Regions from separate parts of the Homo sapiens genome. Here all the other regions are linked to region 1. The links are contacts of gene promoters, found by promoter capture Hi-C in human tissues and cell types (Jung and others, 2019). All regions are on one chromosome and are shown on one strand. The core of a region is centred on a gene start or on the middle of the fragment in contact, and the rest is flanking DNA. Distances in the headings are between cores, read along the strand shown. Region 1 holds the start of MYLK (myosin light chain kinase). Region 2 overlaps MYLK (myosin light chain kinase). Region 3 overlaps CCDC14 (coiled-coil domain containing 14).

Region 1 (5,111 bases), core at 1,351-3,850:
CCTAATGTAATATATGTTAAGTAAAAACTACAGTCCTGAAATTAAATTGGAAATAATATAAACTGATGAAAATATTATGAAGAATAATATTTCTCTAGAATATAAAAAAATGAAGTATTCTTTAGTAGCTCTGTCTATTGAAAAGGCCTAGAAACAGTTACCAACCTAGTAACAATGAATACTCCTAGTGCTCATATTGTTATCTTAAAATTTCAACAAAAGAAACTAGAGCTTCTGGCCAGGCGGGGTGGCTCATGCCTGTAATCCCAGCACTTTGGGAGGCCGAGGTGGGCAGATCACGAGGTCAAGAGATTGAGACTATCCTGGCCAACATGATGAAACCCCGTCTCTACTAAAAATACAAAAATTAGCTGGGTGTGGTGGCACGTGCCTATAATCCCACCTATTCAGGAGGCTGAGGCAGGAGAATCCCTTGAACCAGGGATGTGGAGGTTGCAGTGAGCCGAGATCGTGCCACTGCACTCTAGCCTGGTGACAGAGTGAGACTCCATCTGAAAGAAAAGAAAGAAAGAAAGAAGGAAAGAAGGAAAGAAGGAAAGAAAGAAAGAAAAAAAGAAAGAAAAAGAGAGAGAGAAGGAAGGAAGGAAAGAAAAAACAAAAAAACTAGAGCTTCTTGGAGAAATGGCTGATTCCAGGTTTGAGGCAGCAAATGTACAGATGTGCCTGGAACATCTTGTCATATCAGATAGCAAGGAAGCTATCAAAGACTTCTAGGGTCTTTGAAGCTCTTTGCACACTAGTGAGAGAGAGAGAGAGAGAAAAAAAAAAAGACTACTAGAATCTTATCAAAAGGAGCCAGGAGCCATATTGAAGAAGCTCCTACTGGCCAAAGATGGGACAATTTGAGCTCTAATATCGTAGATGGAAACCTATCAAATATATTTAAATTCATGAATTTATAATGATATTAAAGAAATCTAAGAATGACAGAGAATCAATTCCTTAACTTGAAAACTGGGTAATTTTTTTAAAAAAAAGCAGGTATTCATCGTGCCTTTCCTATCTCAGGGTAATCAAATAGTAGATGAGAGGAAGCATCTCCTTATCCACTTATGAACTAATAAATGAAAACAAAATTATTAGAATACCATGATTTTGCAAACTTCAATTAATTAATGAATCTAGGAATTGAGCATCGACGGCTGTTAACCTCAAAAAAGAGCAAACACCAGACATCATGATCATGTACCTCTTGAAGAAAAGAACACACAACCATCTATAATCTTACAAAAGACATCAAACTTCAGTCTGAGGAAGACCCTGGATCAGCTGCCAACTTGCTGTCAATACAGAGGACAGAGAAACATGCTGAATTGCCTCATGAATGTGCAACCCCCAGACTCTGGAAAACCTCACAGATCAAGGGCTTAAGTTATTTAACAAATAATTGTAAGGAAAAGACTGAAAAGGCAAATCAAATTAAAAAAAAAAAGAGTGGGGGGAGGGGTAAGGTGCACCCTTGGAAGATACCAAGAAAAACAAAAGCAGCAGAAGTGACTACATGAAAGTCAGGTTAGTGGTTACTTTTGGGAGGAGGGAGAAAGGGGGTTGTCATTGAGGTAGGGCACATGGAGAGGCTCCTGGGGTGGCTGGCAGAGTTCTATTTCTTGATCCAGGTGGTGATTACAAGGATGTTCCCTTTATAATAATTCACTAGTCTATATATCTATATATTTGTTTTTTGTGGTTTTCTGTATTTATGTTTTATTTTACAATTAAAAAATTTTTAAAAACACTCCTTAACCTGCAGTAAACAGTTTTTTTAAAAAAAACAAAAGAAGGTCCAAGTGAAGAGATCAGAAGCTATAAAATATTTCATATTGGGTGCAAACTAAATATAAAGCAAGCCAAAACCAGAAACACCTCCTCCCCCTCCCCTCCCCCCCCTCCCCTTTCCCCTTTTTTAATTTAAAGAACTTTGTAGGTATCTTCCAAACCAATGAGAGATTCTTAACACACACAAAGGGAGGATGTCAGAGGAACCATGGGGCTGAGTTGCACCACTGGAGGATGTCTGAAAAAAACTACATAGACAACCTTCCAGCACTAAAACTTTAGCCCCATGGTTCCGCTGACATCTTCATTTTACAGATTAGAAAACTGAGGCCCAGAGGCAGCCAGTGTCTCATGCACGCTCACGAAGCTAGCATCAGACCCCGACCTAAGGCCTAGGTCTCCCAGTGTAGGACTAAGACACGCACCAAGACAGTACCAGCCCGCTGACCGCCGCCTGCGAGGAGTTAACTGGGGCGGTGCAGGATAAGTGCGAGGGGGGCCCGGGTCTGGCGCTAGGTTTGGCTGCGGATTCTCCGCTCCGGACTCCGAGGCAGAAGGCGGGTGGGCGTGGCGGGAAGGGCAGCAGGTCCACTCCCCGAGCGCTATGCAAATGTCATGCAAATCAGTGCATGGGGGCTGGAGCGGGTGGTTTGAGTCCTGACCCCGTAGCGCCGCGCTCTCACTCGCTCTCCTCAGCGCGCGTCCGCTCTCCGCTCTCCCACTTGCTCTCTCTCTCGCCGGTTCGCTCACCCCCGCCCCGCCCCGCCCCGCCCCGCCCTGCCCAGTCCCGGACGCGCCTCGCGGGCTCCCCGCGCCGCCCGGTCGGCAGCAGGGCGCTGAGCGAGCTCGGAGCCCGCGCTGTGCGCCTGCGGCCGGGGCGCCCCGCCGAGCGCCGGTGCCCCGGCTCCCGGGCCGCCTTCGCCGCGCGGGTGAGTGAGCCCGCCCCATGCTTTTGTCCAGGCGCGGGCCCTGGAAGTCAAGGCTCCGAGGGTGGGAGTTCTGGGTGGGGGCTGGGACCCCCACCGTCTGTGCCTCCCGACTCCCCTAATGGAGAGGGGCCCCGGGGTGCGGCGAGGAGTCAGGGGCGTAAGGAGACGACCCCAGTGACGCCAGGCTGCACGAGTTTTCTTTTGGGGAGATGAAGTGCTTGGGGACACTGATGCGATTGCCTTTCTAGGAATCATCCGAAGGGGGTGCCTTTGATTTGAGGGGCGGAGGAGAAGCGGACCCTTCTCCCAGCTCCCAGACCCTCGCTAGAGGACTCGGTGACGGCCTCTGGGAAGGGGGTGCCACGTGAAGGTCCTTCCAGCCCAAATGTGATTCCGGGAAGGTAGGGCGGGGAAGGCGGCCCGCGAGTGCCAGACCTGGCCATCCCAGGCGAAGCTGGGGCGCGGGCTTTGCAGACTTGTTCCTACTCCATACTCCTCATTTAAGCTCCTTACCTCGCTCTGCCTCCTTCGCGTTAACTGGGGTCCCATTGTTGAGGGACCTTGTTCGCCGATGATTGCAGTTGGAAAGTTTTGGATAAACTTCTCAGGAGATGTGAGTTGTCAATGGTTGAGGTAGACCCCTCCCTGGAACTTATGGAACTAAAACCCTTCAAGACCCAAAGGACTGAATTTCTAGGAGTGGCATTGCAGATGTGAAGATGGGCTGATGGGGAAATGGTTTCAAGGATATATATTTTTTTTAGATTGGGGTGTGTGTGTTGGGGTGCGGGGCACTTTCTATTTCGTAGCCAGAAGGAGAAGACCCAGCTCTACTAGAGTCTAGAGGGAGTAAAATTAGCTGTTGTGATTCAGGGAGCTGGGTGGGTGTAGGGAAACACCTGGGCAGTGGGCATGATGCCAGACCTCAGGCCGTTGGTTTTTACCATCCCTCCTCTCCCCAAGTGCAAAGACCAGAGTATATGCAATGACCCGCCCACCCCACAGCCTTTGAGAGCCTGCCCTGGAGCTGCATCCCCCTTCCAAGAGAGGCTGTGTTCTTCTCCACCTGAATGGAATACTTTTTGTCAAAATGCACTTATCAATAAATTATTTCCAGATGGTGGGCTTAGGAGGACCATTTGGGGAACCCCGCCCACACTTCAAAGAATCAGGAATCAACAATGCAAGTCTCTGGGAGAAGTGTAGGTGCATCTGGTGACTTTACTAGGTTCCTACAAGGCATTTAGGGTTCTAATAGAACTGTTTTCTTTTCTCTTAAATTCTTGACCTCCTTCTCTCTTCCGTGATTCTCTTAGTCTCTTCCCCGCCTGCACACTGTGGGACTGTGGAGGATGATGCTGCTGGCACCACAGTGCTCTAGGGCAGCATGGAATTTTCCTTCCTGCCCAGAGTGAGGTTACCCCTTTTTCTCCCACTCTCAGTGGGCCAGGAGCCTTGGGTCTGGGAGGAACCTGAGCAGTTGGTCCTGGGTCCGGAGTGGTTGGACTCTGGATGCTGGATTGGGTAGCGGGTACTCTGGGGACATGCACAAGAGCTTTTTTTGCCAAGATGTGCAGGTCTGTCTCATTGTTCACTGATGATACAAAGGATGCTGGACCTCATTTGCAGCTAAGCATGAGCTTGGAGAACCACCCCACAGTGGGGAAGCATTTATGCTGGTTTATCTCCCATGTTCAGTTTCTTTTGTGTAATAACTGGCTAGCTGAGGAGGAGGGTAGCTGCAGCATTGTAGATGTTTCCTTGTCTTATTTTTATTTTTATTTTTTATTTTGAGACAGGGTCTGGCTCTGTTGCCCAGGCTGGAGTACAGTGGCGTGATCTCAGCTCACTGCAACCTTGACCTACCAGGCTCAAGGAATCCTCCACCTCAGCCTCCTGAGTAGCAGGGACTACAGGTGTGTGCCACCACACCTGGCTAGTTTTTTGGATTTTTTGTAGAGATGGGGTCCTACCATGTTGTCCATACTAGTCTAATGGGCTCAAGTGATCGCCCACCTCTGCCTCCCAAAGTGCTGGGTTACAGGCATGAGCCACTGCACCCAGCCAGAGTAGTTGCTGTTTGTGTGAGGTTTGCTCACCCCTTCATCAGGGGCTGCTTCCCCAGGGGCCAGATCTTAGAAAACATATGCAGAGCAGACTAGGCCTTGGAACATTCCTAGGCTAACTGGTAAGGCCAGGTGGCCCCACCTGCTGCCTGAAAATGGTAGACAGACAGCTACAGTCACTGCAGAGGAGGGGCTCCTGGCTGGCAGGTGGCGGGGGTAATCTGCTGAGAAGGCTTGTCAGAGAAGGAGGTGACCCAGATGGTGCAGAGGGGAGAGGCCTTTGAGTTCCAAGGGTGGGGAAAGGTTCTGGGTCTCTGGC
Region 2 (5,111 bases), core at 1,281-3,780, 72 kb after region 1:
TGGAAATAAAGGGGCCAGGTGTGGTGGCTCATGCCTGTAATCCCAGTGCTTTGGGAGGCCAAGGTGGGTGAATCACCTGAGGTCAGGAGTTCAAGACCAGCCTGACCAACAAGGTGAAACCCTGTCTCTACTAAAAATACAAAAATTAGCCAGGCATGGTGTCAGGTGCCTGTAGTCCTAGCTACTCGGGAGGCTGAGACAGGAGACTTGCTTGAACCTGGGAGGTGGAGGTTGCAGTGAGCCGAGATCATGCCGCTGTACTCCAGCCTGGGTAACAGAATGAGACTCCATCTAAAAAAAGAAAGAAAGAAAGAAAGAAAGGATCAGTTTATGTCCATGAAACTGTTTGTTTTAATGAAATTGGAAGCAACCTAAATAGTAAATAACAGGGGCATCATTAAGTTTTGGCTTGTCTACTTGCTAGAATATGATACAGTCACTGAAAATAAGATTTATGAAGAGTGTTCCATATCTGAGGAAAAGCATGAAAAATGAAGGCAATGATAATTTGTATATATAATTTTATTTTTAAAAGTACATACATAGAAACAGATTGGAAAAATATTACAGAAAATTATAGTATTTATATTGGGGGAAAAGTCATTTGTAATCGTACTCACGACCAAACTTTTAGCCAATATTGTTTATTTGTTTATGAATGACAAAAGATGATGAGACAAGGGAACTCGGGTGAGTTCAACATTCCTGTAAAGAGTCAGAAACCAAGACACTGTCTGTCTAGCAAAGGAGTAAGGACAGCTATGAGAACATGTCCAAAATAACCCGGAGTGTGAAATAACAGGTTCCTGGACAGAGGGGACATGAAGCCTGAGCTTGGCCGGAATAGGGTGAATGTGGCCGGGGAAGATACCTTTGTCTTTTGTTTTTCTAGAGGCTTGGTATCTGTAACCAAATTTATCCCTGAGCCCGAGACACAGGAACAGGGCCCATGAGTCAGTGTTTCTGTGGCAGCCTTCTGGGTCAGTGCCTACACAGGCAGGGCAGGCACCAAATTTGACACAGCTGCATGGGGAAGATATCTTTGAAGTCATGTCTTGTGTCTAGACTTAGGGAGACATGGGAGTGATTAGGGTAGAGGTGGCCTTATGTATAGCCCGGCTCCCCTGAATAGTCCCAGCATGAGTATTCAAAGAGCCCTTTCCATTCTCAAGAGCTCTCATTTGGATAATATGTTATGTGGTCACCCTAATTATTGAAAAGGAGGTTGGAGGACATTCTGGGTTGATGACAGTTGCTCTGCTGGTTGCCTCTAGTGCTTAAGAGGCCGTGAATTGTCCGGGCATGGTGGCTCATGCCTGTAATCCCAGCACTTTGGGAGGCTAAGGCAGGCAGATTGCTTGAGGTTGGGAGTTCGAGCCCAGCCTGGCCAACATGGTGAAACCCCGTCTCTACTAAAAATACAAAAATTAGTCAGGCGTGGTCGCACATGTCTGTAATCCCAGCAACTCGGGAGGCTGAGGCAGGAGAATCGCTTGAACCCGGGAGGCAGAGGTTGCAGTGAGCTGAGATCACGTCACTGCATTCCAGCCTGGGCAACAGAGCGAGACTCCATCTCAAAAAAAAAAAAGAGAGAGAGAGACAGTGAATTAAGATTCCCTGACGCAGAGGTGGGCCCAGCCTGATGGAGAAGTGGCCCAGGTGTTGTAGATGAATACAGTTCTGCTGTCTATCCTGATTAAGATAACCAAGGTAATTATTCCCAAGCTGCCCCAGCATGTGGCTAGAATTCATATTTAACTTTGACCCAAGAGCTCCTTTTCCCCTTGCAGTCTTCCTCCCCCATCCCACAAACCTGGTACATGACCATTAAAATCTCAATAAGCAGAAGCTTAAGTAAGGGTAAATAATTTGCCAGCTGAACCTTCCCCTATTTGCAACCTTTTAGCATTAGCAAGTTCTTGACTTTTCATGAAAAAGCCCTGGTATGGCTAGTGCAAAAATCAGTTCAAATGGTAGAGGATGATAACTTTAAGCAGATAGGGACTTGGCCTGAGTGGGCTCTGTTTACTTCCTGCTGTCTGCCCTTTCTTCTATCGGCTCTGTCAAGGCACGTTTTTTGGGAACCCCATTACTGAGCAGACTGCCAAGTTGACCATCAGTGATCTAGCCTGGGAGCCAAGCCTAGGTTCATCTTGCAAGAAAAGTGGGGTGGGATTGTGGAGAAGGCCCCCTTCCCTGTGCCCACAGGAGAATTGGTGTGACCCTGAGTGCCCCAATATGCCTGGCTGGACATCTTGGGAGCACTGCGAAACAGGAGGTAAAGACCTTCACAAAGTATCTCCTCACAGACAGCCTCAGCTCAGTGGGGCCCCCAGTCAACGGAGAAGCCGTGACAGGCACAGCTGACTGGATGTGTGAACAAACAGATTAACAGTTGGCCCTGCATCAGGGATTTCCAAAGTAAAGAGACATCTAGGTCTTTCATAGATGTTTTGTTCAGTTGGTTGGTTGAGGGACACAGGTGACAAGTGTTGGGGCAAACTCTGGCTTTTCCTGGACTTAAGCAAGAAATTACCTTTTGGCACCTGGACACTGTTTTAAGTCTCTAGTTAAGAGATAAGGGGAAACCACTGTCTCACTCAAGAGAGAACGCTCTGCTTTAGAGGCCAGGCTAGATATGGAATTGGCCGGGATCTGTGGAGAGGACACCTGAGCAAGCATGGGCTAATGTCAAACCATAGCTTCCTAGAGAGGTTGGGTGGGGAAACCTGACTTTCAGTGGGGGAGAAAGTACCACTGCAAAGTCTTAAACTGAAACAGGTGTAAGCAAGTTGGTTCTGACCGCCCCTCATTTGGTTTAAGCTTACATCACAAGGAACAGGTGCTGTCAATAATGAATTCAGTTTTTCTCTTGAGCCCAGAAGCAGAGCGGGATGAAGCCATTAAGGTGATAGAACCCAGCCCTGACTAATAGGTATGAGGGGGAACAGAACTGGGGGGCAAGAGTTCTTCAGTGTAGGCGTCCTGAATCTCTATCGCTGACTCTGAGAAGTCCCAGGGGTCTGCTTTCTCTAAGAACAGTTCCATATTGGGTAATGACAAAAAACCAGAGTGAGATTAAAAATGGATTCTTTATATTGAGCGTTAATGATAAAAGCTCCAGGTGATAGCATTCTGTTCAATGTTATATAACTGTTAGAAATGGGGGTTAGTAGTTAGAAGTGAATTGTTAATTTAATAGATATGTTTTTATAGAAAAATGATACAAATAAGTATGTGAAGTACTGCTTTCTGGCCTAATCAATCACACCTGGAGGGGCCTAGCTGGCTGGCTGCTGTGTCCACCAGGTAGAAGCTTACCTAAATTGCTTGAAAGAAAATGTTCTGGCACTAGAATTGCCGTTTCAAAGCTTTACAGGGATGATAAACAACATACTGCTCTTCAGAGCACTATACCAATCTTGTTACTGTTGGCGAGAGAGAGCATCTAACACTCAATAAATGCTAGGCACTCCAGGCTGAATGCTAAAAAAAATGAACTGCTGCCTTTGTTTAGCACAGTGTCCCCGGTAGGGTGTGGAATTTCAAGTTCAGGAGTAGACAAGCATGAAGGGTTTTAGGGCCTTTGAACAGGTCAATGCCCCATTAGCTTTTTAATTTTCCATCCCACTTTCCTGGCTCCTGGGGCTCTATTTTTCTCTTTGATAATCTGTTTTCTCCAATAGGATTCCAAATTCCCTATTGGAAGTTGAGCCTCATATCCTCAAGGCCCATGATCCCTGAGCCAGGTATGAGTGCAGCTAATAGCTGATGGTGGTCCATTGATCTCCCTGTTGGCCCTGCATTTGCCTGTACTTCCCCCTTGCAGCTGATGGAGGATCCTGTGTGGAAGGGCTCCCTCACCCCGAGTGCAAATGGCTCCCTGTTTCAGAAAGGGTTGAGAGGGGACACGCACTTTCTCCTCTCCACTGGAAACCAGCTGAGCTGACACCTCCGAGCAGAAGTTCCTCTTTGTGTTCCTGCTGATGGGCTGTGCTCTCAGTTGATCATTGGTTTTTTCCATACCTTCTCCAGGTTCTCAGAGGTCACCATTTCTTTCCAGTTAGCCCCATTCTAGAAGAGATTTAGGGCTGGGAGAAAAGGAGAAACATGTGTTAGCCTCATTAGTATCTTTGGTGAAGTGTGAGGAGAAAAAGGTAGCCATGATTGCTAGAAAAATGAGACTGTTAAGGGAGAAAAGTGTGTCGATCTCTGTTATCACCCATCATTGCAGATGGCAAAAATCAGTTGTTCTCAGCAACATCACTGACTGCCCTGCAGACAACCTGGAACTGGAGGGTGTCCTTTGGGAGACAGGCAGGGCATGGTGTGGAAGGGCCTGTGTGAGTCACATGAGGACAGCCAAGGGTCTGACTGGACTCCCGGCCAGTCCTGCCACAGGCATTGCATGCAGCTGGTGCTTGAGTGGGTTCACCTGCCTACCTGAGGAGCACGACAGGGAAGGTGAGAACTGTCCTGAGCCTGTTGGGGGGATTGTTCATCTAGAAGAGACATGACTGGCATCCCCATTGGCAGAGCCAGGGCCAGGCTTAGAGCTGGCTTACATTTCCTCATTTTGTATTCTATTGAGCGCCAGAAATGAAGCAGAGAGGGCTGAACCCTGACACAGTGGGCCGGCCCAAGCCTGAGATTGAGGCCCAGAAAGGCCTAGGCTCAACAGACGCCAGCTCCAGACCCAGGGCCACCCTGCTCACCCATGGCTCACAGGGAGATGCAGATTGAACTCTTCGTTCCAGAGAGTGGCCACCTTGATTGGGAAGGGAAGCAGGGGCAGGGGAGGAGAGGGAAGTCACAGGGAGACTATGGGAACCACGGGAAACACGGCCATTCTGTCCTGAGGTCTGGGGGAGGGGCCTATGTCCGCGTTTCACCTACAGCACTTATGTCATTGTATTGGGAGGAGGTAGTTGAACCTCTCACCTTATTTATAGTCCTAGCGGGTATTGTGGGCACTCAGTAAATACACAGTGATGGGTGTGCGGACAGGTAATGAGTTCTGAGCCTTAGGCCCTAGTTCTTCCTGCTCTGCTGAGAGCACAAACCTGATAAAGCTTGAGAACCATGATCAGGTAAACTGTTCGAAATAGTCA
Region 3 (5,111 bases), core at 1,687-4,186, 67 kb before region 1:
TCGGTCAGAGTTCCAACAAGAAACAGATGGCAACACTCAAATTGAGGTAATTTTAGGAGGGTTTATTTACAAAGGGACTCATAAAGGTATGAATAGGGTATAGGAAAACCACAGGTTTTGCCTACTAGGTCATGCGAGCCTAGTGCTAGCAGCAGAGCAGCAGAGCTGTTATCATCTCTAGGCCATAAGGGATTAGGAGAGAGAGAGGTTACTGGATCTAGAAAGAGATACTGTTTATAGAATACGCTACCTTGAGAAGAGCAGTGAGCTTCATTGAAATGACGAAGGCAGCCCAAGGTGGCCTTATAGAAAGGGAGCAGGAATAAGTGTATATCCTGACTTCATGCTTCTTCCTTTCCTTGATATGCCAAGACTCCCATTGGATTGAACCCAACTGAAGCCCTACTGATGTATATCAGGTCTGGGATTTGACTCTTACAAGCTAGTAAGTTAGTCTTACTGTGTCATGGATGCTAGCAGAAGACAAGACTGCTGGGTCAGAGACAAAGGACTTTATTACTCACAGCACAGGAAGCAGTATGTGCATCAGCATATTGTGTTGGTTCTCATTCACCCTAGTTCCCATTGGGGTGATATGGTGGACCCATATGGATGCTGCACATGCCTTAGGTTTAGGTTGCAGCTGAGGAACACTGAGCTTGGGGAATCCGTCACTTTGGTAGTAAGCAGTAATCAAGCCTGTGCTTGTCCCAGAGGGAAACATTACCTCATCCTTCAAGGTTGCTCACTGCAGACACAACCCTGAGAAGCGGCCCAGGTAAGGAGTTTAGGTCAAAGCCTTGCTTTTTTGGTATATACAGCAAGACATATTGAAGGACTGTCTTTTTGCAGCCCATATGGATCAGCATTCCAGGGAGACCAGGGTGAAGACCAGTAGAGGTGGGTTTGGATTGGCAGATGGAAGATTCTGGCATTCTGGGTCCATAGCGTTAAATTCTTATTTGGATTACAGCCGAATCAGCAGTTCTGGCCTGTGATCAGGGTGCAATATTCTTATTGTTCTTTCTCCCATATTTTCTTAATCAGAAGGAAGGACCTACTTCCACAGGACAATCTTCTTTAGGGTTGCAATATTAGAAATTAGTTTCTAGTTGTGTGTGTGTGTGGTTGGCAGCTGTTAACCAATAATACAAGATTTTGCTTTGTTACCACAATGCTCAAAAATACACAAAATCCAAGCTCATAACTTGTTCTCTTTACCGTCTCCAAGTGAAGTAATCATAAAGAACTTTAAGCGATCTATTACAGCATGTTAACTAGTATCCATGTATTATTTTACTTTTAACACACATTATCTTGCTATTTTGTGTTAACTGTCTTCTGGGGAGTGGCCTCCTTATGTACTTTCTATCTGGGATGATATGATCATTGAATGCCTACCTGATCACTGAATGCCTATGGAGTCAGGTAAGCACACCATGATGCATTCTGGGACTAAGGAGGCAGAGAAGCCCTTCCAGAATTGTATTGAGCTTATTTGAGAGTGCTTCTGGCATTTAAAAAAAATATGTATTTTTTAAATAAGCAACTTTTACATGTGATAACTGTGTTGAATGCTTTCATGATTTTGCTTTTAGTAACATACATTGCTGTCTTCATCTTGGGGAACTAAACCAACCACAGGCAAAAATCCTTTGAGCATTGATTGCCACTCATAAAGGCCAGGTGTTCTTACGTATTTCAAATTATAGTAGGCATCTAGTGGCTCTTACCTGCACTGGATGTTTGTTCTATATTCGAGTGGCAGGAATAACTTCCTGTCAGACAGTGCTTGCACAGCAGCTAGACTTCAGGGACTGAAAAAGTTTTGTGGACTGAGTAAATGAATACTTTCCTTTCATGAATTCTAGTTATCACCTGACATCACTTAAACATTGCCAGACCAATAGCTAAAATTTTCATGTAGAGTGCGTTGGTGTAATTAACAAGAGCAAGAAAATATACTTCATTTGTATTTGTGTAGTAACAGGCTCATTTGATCATTGGTTTGTTTTATTTTAAAACTGTGTAGTAGTCATATAACTGCAGTCCTTCCCTTATGGTTTCTAACTTGTCTTGGATTGTTTGCTTTAAGACTTCATATCGTTAAGTAAAGTTACTCAACATTATCCGTAGAGATTTGTGTGGACTGAGTTTATAAAGGAGCAGAATATGTCATTTTAGTTCTAAGGCTTTGATTTTGAAGAAATAGGTTTGGAATTTATTAATTTATGTTAGTTGATGACATCTGCTGGCTGAGGCATAATGTAGCTCAGCTTTATTAGAAACTGTGAAAACCACGCCTTGAAAAGAAAGTAAATGAGAGCCTGATGCTGTGACCTGTGTGTGAAATCTGAGAATTCTTCAAACTAGCCAATTCTTAAGGACCAGAGGAAATCCAAGAGCAGAAGGAAAGACCCAGGAATCAAGAGGAAAGGACTTGTGGTATGCTAGATGGCCATGGGCTATGATCTCACCCTCTATCATTTTAGATTTCAAAGTTAAAATATTTTAGAGGGCACTTTTCCATTTGATTTATTATAAAATTGTATTTCTGGTAAGAAATAGTATTTGCTTTACAAAAGTTTATTAACCAGTTTTGTTTGAGCTGATCAGATAGTGAAGGTAACTCTTATTACTTTTGATTTTAATCATCTCAGAGGGGACATGTTCAGAGGTTTATTACTGACATCAGATAGTATGATTTATGAATATGATATATTTACTTGTCTATTGTAAGAGTGCAGCTATTTGGTGATATTTAACATTGAGTTTTTACTGTGTGGTAGACATTGCTTTAAGAAATTTACAAGTGTTACGTCATTTACATCTCTCAATAATCTTATAAAATAGGCATTATTAAAATTTTTCTGATGAGGAAAAACAGGTCAAGAGAAGTTAATTTGCGCAAGGTTACTCAGCTAATAAGTGTTAAAGCTTGTATTTAGGTCTGGAAAGTACATTTATAGGAGTAGATCATCTGAAAAGGAAGCATACCCCAAGTCAAAAGGGAAGCATCTGATATCTTCAGCCATTTTCGTAGTCAAATATTGTCTTTTTCTTTAAATTTTTTTTCTATTTTCACTGGTTATAGTATTAAATCTGCCTTTAACTTTTTCTGTTTTTGCTTTTACATGGAAGTTTTACACTTTTAGTAATATTTTTATTTTCAATAAACTATATTTGAGGGATTCTCTACTTTTAAATTTTTAATTATTTTGTTTTTTAAAAAATTAAGGAATACTTCTCATAAATAATTTTAAAGTACATAAATCTCAATAAATTTTTGCATACGTATACACCCCTGTAGCCACCACCTAGATCAAGATACAGACAATTTTTAGCACCCTGCGAGGCTCCCTCCCTGTCAGTACCCTCACCATCACCTAGACCCTCATCCCTGTGTAACCATTTTCCTGACATCTGTTTCCATTTGTGACTTTTACCTGTTTGATGACTTCCTATAAATGTGATTGAACACTGTGCGCCCTTGTGTTTGACCACTTTCAGTCAGCCTTAAGTGTATTAAACATCCAGGTAGTTGTATATATCAGTACTTTGTTGGTTTTTTAATGCTGTATAGTATTCCAGCCTGCGAGTATACCACAGTTTATCCATTTCTGCTATTCATGGCTATTTGGTGTTTTCAGCTTTGGGCTACTGCAAATCAAGCTGCTGTGAACATTCTTGCACATGTCTTTCAGTAGACATAAGCACTCATTTCTATTGGTGTATACCTGGGAGTGGAATTGTTATTTCATAGAATATATGTACGTTTAGCTTTGGTAGGTGTGACAAATATCCATATATTTTTCTAAATTTATTTTGTATACTGATAACCTATGATTTACCAGAATATTTTCATTTCTGTTAATAGTGTTTTAAAAAACCTTTGGGAAGGGGACCTAATTAGGGAAATAGTATTCAGATTGTTATACCAATCTATAGGTAGTGCTATGTAGAAAACTTTGTTGTTTTTTACTTATTACTTTGTTAATACCGATTTCTACCTTGTTCATAGACTAATACTAGGTTCTGTAAGAGAAAACAATGAAGTACAGCCCTGCTTAGAGAAACTTGTGGTTTAGTCAGAAAGGCAGGAGGATGAAAGATAAGCAATATAAGGCAGTGTGTCAGTGGCATATGATTTCTATAGACAATATGTGCTCTAGGGTGGTGAAGAGTAGTCACTAGACTGGAATGATTGGATTGGAAAAGGCTTCATGGAAGAAGAAAACTCAGATGAGCCTTGGTGAGTGGGTAGAATTGGATTGGTAGGAATGGTTCATGAACAATGTTATTGGAAGGTGAGAAAAGCTTGTTGGGTAACTAAATTGGCCTGCCTGAAATGAAAAATTGGAGTTGGGAGTGATGGGGCGATAGTTGGAAAAGTAGCTTGTGGTCAAGCTTTGGAAACTTTAAATGCCAGGCCAAGATTTTGTTTGTTTGGTTGGTTTTGTTTTGTTTTGTTTTTGAGGACCCAAAGCATCAGAATTGTACAAACTATTCTCTTTCCTATTGCATTTTCCCTTGAGAACATGAACTGACAAGGAACAAGGTGAAGGAGTTTGACTGGACTTTAGGGATAATATAACTCCCTTAAAAGAAGTGTTAAAATGAAGGAGAGATTTTACAAATGGCAAGTAGCATAAAAAATGGGAATTGTAAAGAATTAGTATAGATGATTTTTGACTGGGGAAACTTAAACACTAATTACTTTCAGAAAGAATTTGAGATGATTTTCTTTAGTAGGGGTGATAGTGGTAAAGCCCTTCTATGAAGTATGTGATGGATTGGACTACTTCTGAGAGCCCTTTCTTCTCTTAAAATCTTACGGTAAAAGTTTTTGAAGAATCATATTTCAAGAACTTTTTTCTTCTTCCACATTAGCATCTTCAGATAATAAGAAACAGATACCTAATGAAGCTTCTGCTAGAAGTGAAAGAGACACATCAGACCTAGAGCAAAACTGGTCATTGCAAGATCATTATAGAATGTATTCACCCATAATATACCAAGCCCTCTGTGAGCACGTGCAGACTCAGATGTCACTGATGAATGACTTGACTTCAAAGAACATCCCTAATGGAATTCCTGCTGTACCATGCCAT

The links. The method cuts DNA at HindIII sites, captures the fragments that hold promoters and counts their contacts. A contact is called where the count stands out against the background at its distance.
Region 2: a fragment that was not itself captured here is called in contact with the fragment with the promoter of MYLK in region 1 in 4 of the 25 tissues and cell types used here (bladder, heart left ventricle, liver and 1 more).
Region 3: a fragment that was not itself captured here is called in contact with the fragment with the promoter of MYLK in region 1 in 2 of the 25 tissues and cell types used here (aorta and mesenchymal stem cells).

The regions. Positions count from the first base shown.
Region 1 is chr3:123,881,821-123,886,931 of GRCh38, reverse strand. It overlaps MYLK (myosin light chain kinase), which reads left to right and starts at 2,600. Exons shown (of 34, transcript NM_053025.4): 1 at 2,600-2,726. It also overlaps a transcript of CCDC14 not described here. RefSeq lists a silencer at 2,561-2,720. The HindIII fragment of the contact is 8,771 bases long and covers 1-5,111 here.
Region 2 is chr3:123,809,994-123,815,104 of GRCh38, reverse strand. All of the region lies in intron 3 of MYLK (myosin light chain kinase), which reads left to right. LOC124906346 (small nucleolar RNA SNORA5) reads right to left here and starts at 1,028; the gene lies at 898-1,028. The HindIII fragment of the contact is 3,385 bases long and covers 838-4,222 here.
Region 3 is chr3:123,948,912-123,954,022 of GRCh38, reverse strand. CCDC14 (coiled-coil domain containing 14) reads left to right here. Exons shown (of 13, transcript NM_001366335.1): 6 at 4,891-5,111. Among named protein-coding and RNA genes, the nearest start is that of CCDC14, 9.8 kb to the left of the region's middle. The HindIII fragment of the contact is 5,352 bases long and covers 261-5,111 here.